3 separate regions of the Homo sapiens genome follow, and all the other regions are linked to region 2. The links are contacts of gene promoters, found by promoter capture Hi-C in human tissues and cell types (Jung and others, 2019). All regions are on one chromosome and are shown on one strand. Each heading gives the region's core, a stretch centred on a gene start or on the middle of the fragment in contact. The rest is flanking DNA. Distances are from core to core; before and after follow the strand shown.

Region 1 (2,802 bases), core at 257-2,756, 280 kb after region 2:
GCACCCGCCACCATGCCCAGCTAATTTTTGTATTTTTAGTAGAGACGGGGTTTCACCATCTTGGTCAGGCTGGTCTTGAACTCCTGACTTCCTAATCCACCCACCTCTGCCTCCCAAACTGCTGGGATTACAGGCGTGAGCCACCACGCCCGGCCCCCATCTCTCCTCTTTAGGGTGGCTCATTGGGATCCATTTTGTTAACACCAACAATTAGTTTCACACCCAGCGTGTAAGACAGAAGGGTGTGCTCACGCGTCTGCCCATTCTTGGAATTACCAGCTTCAAATTCATCAACACCAGCAGCAACAATCAGGACAGCACAATTAGCCTGAGGTCAGGTTTTTGATAAAGTCTCTGCATCCTGGGCCATTGAGGATGGTCACATAGTACTTGCTGGTCTCAATTGCCAGCAGGGAGGTATCAGTGGTGATACCACTCTCACGTTCAACTTTCAGCTTACCCAAGACCCAGGTATGCTTGAAGGAGCCCTTTCCCATCTCAGCAGCTTCCTCAAAATTGTCGATGGTTCTTTTGTGGATCCCACCACACTTGTAGATCAGATGGCCAGTAGTGCTGGACTTGCCCAAATCAGATGATGATGTTGAGCTGAGTCTTTTCCCTCCCCTGCTCCCTTTCTTTTGAGATGGAGTCTCACTCTGTTGCCCAGGCTGGAGTGCAGTGGTGTGATTGCAGCTCACTGCAGCCTCAACCTCCTGGGCTGAAGCCATCAGCCAGCTCAGCCCCTGGAGTAGCTGGAATTACAGGCGTGCGCCACCACGCCCAGCTAATTTTTGTATTTTTAGTAGAAACGGGGTTTCACCATGTTGGCCAGGCTGGTCTTGAACTCCTGACCTCAAGTGATCCACCTGCCTCCACTGCCCAAAATGCTGGGATTACAGGCGTGAACCACCGCGCCAAACCCCCATTTTGGCTTTGATTTAACGGTGGTTTTCACGACACCTGTGTTCTGGCAGCAAACCCATCGCAAAAAAGCTCCACTGCCCTACACAGATTCTATTATAAACATCTCCATTCTACAGATGAGAAACTGAGGCTGAGTAGTTAAGGGAAACTCCTACAGCTAGTAAGAGTCGTGACTCAGAGCCCATGACACCATCCTGCTTCTCCAACCTTCTTTGCTTCCTCTACTTTCCAGAAAACATGAATTAGGGAATCCTGTGGAGGGAGACAGGGAAATAATTTGACGTTGTCCTGTACATACTGGACACAATAAGAGTTGGGTGGATGAACGAAAGCAGGGATTTAGGAAGCGGGGAGAAGTCGTTTGGAAGTCTGTGACAAGGGTTTACGCTTGGATAGGGTGGGCTTGATCACCCGGCAGAAATGAGACGAGTGATCCCAGCCTTCCCAACCAATCTTTCCAGTGACCTGGGTTTACGCTTCACCACAGAGAAGGAACTTTTCAGACGCTCCCTTGGCCGCGCACCCGGGATCGGAACAGCGCTGTCACTTGCGACAAAATCCCTAGGCCAGAGGAAGAAGAGCGCAGGCCTGGCGAGGCGGCGGCGGGCGGAGGCTGGGCCGGAGGGGTGGGGACGGCGAGGAGGTGGAGGCCGGCGCTCCGCTCCGCTCCAGCTCGGTTTCATGTCCCGCCAGGCGAAGGATGACTTCCTGCGGCACTACACAGTGTCGGACCCCAGGACTCACCCCAAGGGCTACACCGAGTACAAAGTAACCGCGCAGGTGAGGTGGGGCCCAGCGCGTACTTTACCCTTTTAACTAGAGGGGCGCCGAGTTTTACCTTAAGGAAAGGCGGTGCAGCCACTGCTCCCTTTTTAGACGACAGAAATGGGTTTCCCCTTTAAGGGGAGGTTGCAGTACGAGGCTTAGTTTACATCTTTAACCACCAGGGGGCGGGGTCCTGGGTGGGCGCTGTCTTTTTTAAAAGGGCGTTGACGGCCGTTCCCGGACAGGCAAGGCGTGTATGCCCACGCCCGGAGTGTAGTGTCTGGGCATCAGGCTGTGAATTTCTCTAAATTAACATGAAAACTCTGGTTTAATCCAAATATTAGTACTCCATTCTCGTAGAGTAAGTTTTGTTTATTGGTTTGTTTGATGTTACATAAACTCCCTTTAACGAGTTTAACCATTTTTAATTTTTCAAAAAATAATACTGATCAGTGGTTGAAAAAAATTGATGCAGTTCAGAAGGACTTAAGGAGTAAGTCGCCATATCAAGGTCACAGCAGGAAGATAGATAGGCTAGAGTTGATATATGAAGCGATAACAACATCATAAGCACAATTTATAGAGAGACATGGAGGAAACCATGACAATAATTAAAAATGAAACAGTAAAACAGGACACCTGTAGAATGATAACAAGAACTGGTAACAAGGAAGGTCCCCAGGGAGAGGAACTGTGTCACTGGGGACAGGAGTTAGGGGAAGACTTTTTACTGTAAATTTTTTGTACTTTTAGAATTTTCAACCAGGCGACTATTAAGCTGGTGCATTAGTTAACTCTAAAAGCAAAGCAGGCACATAAGGACACTTCCAAAGTGATCTAAGTGCAGAATCTTAGCTATTTAAAATATGCTTTCCCCAAACCGTTTACGTCTTTTCCATGCCTAAAAATAATGCAAATAAGGCCGGGCTCAGTGGCTCATGCCTGTAAATCCCAGCACTTTGGGAGGCTGAGGCAGCAGATTGCTTGAGCTCAGGAGCTCAAGACGAGCCTGGGCAACATAGTGAGACCCCGGATCAATATTAAAATACAGACACACACACAACTTTAAAAAAAAAAAAAAAAAAAGCAAATAAATAGATTGTCCCTGGGAAG
Region 2 (2,700 bases), core at 177-2,676:
ACTGTGCCTGGGAGGCAGGGACCCGGGCTCAGACTCGGGGCTAGGCTCAGGCTCCGTGTGCCCTCCCGAGCCACTCACCGAAGGCTTCGATGCACCCGCGGAGCAGCTCCTCCACCGTGCAGCCCTTGTCCAGGTCCAGGGTGCCTGCCATGGCCGCCGGCGCGGGGTGGGCTGGGCCCAGGCTGCGCTCCGGGAGCCTCCCACCGGGCTCGGACCGAACCCCTGTCCCGGGAGAGGCAGAGCGGGAGTCTGCGGAGTCGCGGGCGGGGGAGCGGCCCCGCGGGCAGAAACGGGGCGGGGCGGGCACGCCCCCTGCTGGACAGGGGCGGAGTTGTCCCCCGCGGCCACTCCCGGGGTTAAACGGTCTGGCCCGGGATGGTGCAACCCGCCAGTTGGGAAACGGACCCGCAGAGAGGCTTCCGGCCCACCCTCGGAGTCGCGGGAAGGCCGAGGGGCTTCACGAGGATGGGGACGAACCAAGATCCCAGGACTGGCTGGCGCCCAGCCCCCCGCAGGGCGCCTTCTCCTCGCGCCCTCTCCCCAGAGGCACCTGCAGCACCCCGCAGCTCGGCTCTGCGCCCCTCCCGCTTCCCTCCCTCCACAGCCTCCCTTCCCCCGCAGGGTTATTTTGGGAACCCAGAGCCTGAGGGGACCTCGGAGGAATTTCTCCCTGGTATGGGAGGTGGGGGGAGAGAACCCAGGCGTCCTGCCCGCCTCGCCCCCTCCCGGGAGCCCAGGAAGGCGAGGCGGGGCTGCGGCAGCCCCCAGGGGGCCTGCCCTAGGGGAGGCGGACTGGATGGGAGAGGAACATTCCTGGGGCGGGGGGAGCCCGCTGCGGCCAGGAGGCGTCAGCGGGAAGCCTGAGCCTGGGAACTGAGCGCTCCCAGGCCACCTCCGCAAAGGTCCCAGGGGTCCCGGCTCAGCTTGTCCACAGGCCCTCTTCCTCCCTATCCCCGGCTCCTGACCCTGGCCCCGGCCCCGCACAGGCGAACTGTGAGCGCGCACGGAGCAGGGTGTCCAGAGGGGGGCGCTCGCGCCAAGGGTGGCCGGTGGGTGCATGACACCATTAGCAACTCCGGTCACTGGCGGGGTCATACGCACCCTGGCAGGGGCAAACACTCCACACCCAAGTTATTCGTCGGAGGCCGGGGACCTAAGTGGAGGTGCAGGCGTCCGCACTTACACGCACCGGGCCACAGGCACCGGCCTCCCATCCTCCGTCTCTCACACACAATGGCACCCACACCCTGTGCACACCTGCACGAAGAAACCCTCAGGCACACATACCCAGCTCGTCCACCCCAGAATGCAAACCCGCGGACGAGGTCGCCTCCTGGACGTGCTGTTCACTTGAGCCAGGCCAGCCTTGAGTCCCGCGGCCACACAGGCGCTGACATCCTCACACGTGTGCACACACGCAAGGCAGTGCCTCTCCACGCATGTACACTCCCACACACATGCACACACCCCCATGGGTGCGCACGCCCATTCCGTCGCCCCCCTCCCATTTGCGGTGCAGGGCCCGCCCTGCGGCCCCAGCTCCCTGACTCCCCTCACTCCCAGATTTTGGCAGAGCCTTGCCCCACGGAAAGGTACCCCGGCCCTACACATACTCACTCCCCCAGGCTGGAGGACAGGGGAGCTCCTGTACGGAGTTCTCAGGCGGACTTTTCCTAAGAGCCACCCAGAGCCGTCCCCGCCTGGCTCTACCGCTTCCTCGTGTGACCTTGAGAATCACTTGGCCTCTGGGAGCCTCAATTTTCTCATCTGCCAAATGGGGGTACGCGGGGGAGGGCCCCGCTGGAAGGTGGCTGGGAAAAGCTGGGTGCACCGTGGAGGTCCTCCGCCCTCCGGGGATCCAGCGCGCCTTAGCTCTCGTGGCCGCTGCCCCCTCTCCCAGACCCGGGCCGCAGACTCCCCACCCGCTCGCCGCCCCCAGCCCGCCCGCGCCGCCCTGGGCGGGGGGGGAGTCGCTGGGGGCCGCGCCCTCCTTCGCCTGGCGCCCCGCCCGCGCTCGCCCACTCACTCTTGGGACCTGCCGCAAGGAGCCCGCACCGGCCTGGCCGACCCCACCTCCGTGCGCTCCCGCCCGCCGGCCTCGCTGCGGCTGCGGCTCCCGCCCGCTCTCCACGCCGCGGCCCCGCTCCCCGCCGCCCCGCCCCCGCCCCCGCGCCAGGCTGCCCCCTCCCCCCTCCGCCCCTGCGCGGAGCTCCGCACCGCCGGCTGCGCCACCCCCACCGGGGGCTCCCTCTCGCCCCGCACGCGGCGGTCCCTGCGGCAGCTTAACCCCTCCCCTGCCGCGCCGCCCGGGAGGCCAGGGCCGCGGGCGGGGGGCTGCGCCACTAGCTGCCCCGAGGGCGGGCGACCGGAGGCCCCGCCGCCCGGGACGCGGAGGGGGGACCGAAACGAAGAGCCCCTCCCCCAACCGCGGACGCCCCAGTGCCCCCCGCCCTGCCTGGGTGTCGGGCGGAGGAAGCCGGGAGGGGCAGGAAGCGGACTGCGGTGGGGAAGGGGCGCCCCGCCCAGCCCCCAGCTCGGGTTCCTGTTTTCGAGACAAACCGTTCCCATGGGGCTAACCCGGCCCGGGACCGGGCGTCTTCCTGCAGGCAGCGGGTGGCACAGGCCTAGTGGAGGTCGGGGGCGTGGGGACAGCTGGTCCTTGAGATAGTCTGGGGGATGGGCTAGGACAAGATGGGAATA
Region 3 (2,909 bases), core at 146-2,645, 310 kb after region 2:
TTCCTACAGCTCAGAGAGGGTCAGGGAGGCATCCGAGGCCACACAGCCCATTGGTGGGACAACCCGAAAACACCTTGCCTTTCCTGCCCCACCCTGGGGCTTGGTTCCCCACTCAACACTGCCTCTTCTCCTTCCCCTTCCCCTCACTTCCTCCAGTCCACTGCCCAGCCCCTTCCTCACCGAGGCCTCCTGCACTGGGGGACTGCCACTCACCTTGGCCCCACGCCCTACACCCCCATATCGAGTCAGGGCAATGGTGCCTTCAAGTTTGATGCCCTGAGTCTGTAGCTCCTTAAAGTCTTCTTCCGCGCCCCGGTTGGCATAGACGAGGAGGCCCTAGTCCCAAGAGGGGGTGATCCTTAGAGCTGGGCCCAGCGAAGTGTGGGTGGGGAAGGGGGGTGGAAGTTTGCATGGCAGGAGGGAGAATTTAGATTCTGTTCCCCCACCTCACCCAGAGCTTGTAAGCTCCCCAAGAACAGTCACCCCTCATTTCCTCCATGTCTGGGTGCCCTGTAACAGACCTGGCCTTGAGCAGAGCCACTAGTGTTTGTTGAATGACTGATGGAGGAAAGGAGCAGCGATGGAGTGTCCCGGTGAGTAAATTCCGGAGGGCGCGCTGTGCCCCAGTTGAGGCACGTTCCCTGGGTCAGGGTGGGGAGAACCCTGGGTGGAACCAAGGGAGCTGGGCCAGAGCAGTAGGGGGGGTTCTGGGCCCACCTGTGGGGTTCCAGAAGGAGCATAGGCAGCATAGGGTTGTACCACATCTGGCCCCCCTTGCTCCCCGGTCACGTTCTCCTCAGTCCGGTGGCAGGAGTGGATGATGCCCCCAGTGGGGCCCACTGTTGGAGGGGTGGCAGTATCATGGCTGGGCCCAGCAGCTCCCCACCCCCGGGCATTCCCAAGACTGGGCAGGACCTCACCGATGTCCACGACGTTGGGCTGCTCCTGGCTAGGGAAGGACAGCAGCACTTCGTACGTGGAGGCCTCGGCCGAGTCCAGGCCTGACTCTGGGTCCTTCCAGCGCTGCAGCAGCAGCTGCACCAGGTCCTCATCCCGAGGGCTGGAGGCCAGGTGTGGCTCCCTGGAGAGTTCTCTGCAGGGTGGGCAGAGGGAGGGGCAGGGCCAGCATCAGGGAGGGGGCCTCTGGCAAACGGAGGAGCAGATGGCCCCACTTCTCACCTGAGGTTCTCCCGGATCCTGTGGGCATCCAGCTGCCCCATGACGGTCTCCAGGATCTCCAGGTCCAGGTCCTGGGGGGCCAGTGAGTTGGCTTTTTTGGGGATGGCAAAGTGGCCGAGGATGATCCCCAGCCCCAAGAGGGCAGCAGCCCCCAGCCCCAGCCCCAACACCTTCGTCCACTGCATCCTGCGGACTCTTGGCCAGCTGGGGTAGGACTGGTCTATAGGTTATTCCCTATAGAGGGGGTGTTGTGCCTGGTTAAACATTACCCCATGGGTGGCACTGCCCTTTGACCCCCAGCTGGCAGGGAGAGTGAGGGAACATCCCGCAGTGAGAGCCAGGAGCCATCCACATCCACCACATCCTGCACCATTTGCCTGGAATGGCTCTCCAAGGGCAGCAAGGTCACCCAGGGACACTGAAGCCGAGAGGGAAGGGGCTCATCCAGGGTGTCCCAGGAAAACAGAGGCCAAGCCAGGGCTGGAACTCAGAGCTCCTGTGTTCACAGCAGGGCCGTGCCCACTGCCCACCCTCACTGCCTCTGCCTCCCTCCAAGGCAGCCGATCTACAGCATACCCAGCCCTACCTGCCTGAGCAGATTTTGAGTTGAGATCCCCCTTCTTGCTGGACGTAAGCTGTGTGACCTTGGGCAATCCACTCAGCTTCTCTACACCTGTTTTCTTTTTTTTTTTTCTAGACTGTGTCTTCCACTGACACCCAGGCTGGAGTCCAGTGGTGTGATCTCGGCTCACTGCAACCTCCACCTCCCGGGCTCAAGTGATTCTCCTGCATCGGCCTCCCGAGTAGCTGGGATTACGGGTGTGCACCACCATGTCCAGCTAATTTTTGTATTTTTAGTAGAGATGGGGTTTCACCATGTTGGCCAGGCTGGTCTCAAACTCCTGATCTCAGGTGATCACCCGCCTCAGCCTCCCAAAGTGCTGGGATGACAGGAGTGAGCCACCGTGCCGGCTATGGTGTCATTTTCATTAAACAATATGGCATCTGTAGAAATAGCTAGTGCAGTGTCTGACATGTAGTGGGAGCTCATCAATTTTAACTACTCATCCCTCATCTGACTCTGGAAAATGTAAGGCCTAGAGCTAAAGGAAGAAGGAGGACCCAGAAGAACTCTCTGTGTCTATCCTGAAGGGAGCCCAGCGATACGAGGAATGGGAGTCCTGGGAAGGGAGGCTGTCCCAGAGGAGGCAGCAGGGGAAGCCCATGCCTCCCTGGCGAGGTGACTTCCTCTTCTATCCCCTGGCTCTGCCTGGACTCCGTCATCCACCCTCCTATTTATCCATCCACCCATCCCTCCATTCACTTATTCATTCCTTCCTTTATACATGCAAGCACTGTTCATTCTGTGCTATACTAGAGCCATGCAAGGCTGTGGGGAAGCAAAATCCAGCAGGCGAGGCAGACAGGCTTTAGGTTCAGCCATGTGGTAAGTGCCCTGTAGAGGGAGGATCACCATGCTCCCAGTGAAAGAGTGAGGAGTTCTGACTAGGAGGGAACATCTGAGGGGGTCCTCCAAGGCTGAAAAGGTGTTCCAGCATTTGCAAGGGCTGAGAGGGAAGTGAGACCCCAAGTATGCCATACACATACTGAGCCTCTTCCAGACCTCACGGAGAGCCAGGAGGGGCTGGGGGGGTCCCTAGGGACTTGAGCTGGGACTTCTCCCACCCTCCCATGGCCTATCCTGCCTTGACTCTGCCTCGCAGGTTGCA

The links. The method cuts DNA at HindIII sites, captures the fragments that hold promoters and counts their contacts. A contact is called where the count stands out against the background at its distance.
Region 1: the fragment with the promoter of SNX15 here is called in contact with the fragment with the promoter of RASGRP2 in region 2 in 4 of the 25 tissues and cell types used here (adrenal gland, aorta, dorsolateral prefrontal cortex and 1 more).
Region 3: the fragment with the promoter of NAALADL1 here is called in contact with the fragment with the promoter of RASGRP2 in region 2 in 5 of the 25 tissues and cell types used here (dorsolateral prefrontal cortex, heart left ventricle, heart right ventricle and 2 more).

The regions. Positions count from the first base shown.
Region 1 is chr11:65,025,933-65,028,734 of GRCh38, forward strand. SNX15 (sorting nexin 15) reads left to right here and starts at 1,507. Exons shown (of 8, transcript NM_013306.5): 1 at 1,507-1,704. The coding sequence starts at 1,606. ARL2-SNX15 (ARL2-SNX15 readthrough (NMD candidate)) reads left to right here. Exons shown (of 11, transcript NR_037650.2): 4 at 1,386-1,704. It also overlaps the pseudogene EEF1A1P18. RefSeq lists an enhancer at 1,325-1,619 and a silencer at 1,469-1,638. The HindIII fragment of the contact is 29,710 bases long and covers 1-2,802 here.
Region 2 is chr11:64,742,716-64,745,415 of GRCh38, forward strand. It overlaps RASGRP2 (RAS guanyl releasing protein 2), which reads right to left and starts at 1,427. Exons shown (of 17, transcript NM_001098671.2): 1 at 1,288-1,427; 2 at 79-222. The coding sequence starts at 151. RefSeq lists silencers at 94-423, 734-783, 944-993, 1,984-2,093, 2,344-2,543. The HindIII fragment of the contact is 18,641 bases long and covers 1-2,700 here.
Region 3 is chr11:65,057,158-65,060,066 of GRCh38, forward strand. NAALADL1 (N-acetylated alpha-linked acidic dipeptidase like 1) reads right to left here and starts at 1,396. Exons shown (of 18, transcript NM_005468.3): 1 at 1,180-1,396; 2 at 921-1,093; 3 at 718-839; 4 at 214-336. The coding sequence starts at 1,364. The HindIII fragment of the contact is 22,908 bases long and covers 1-2,909 here.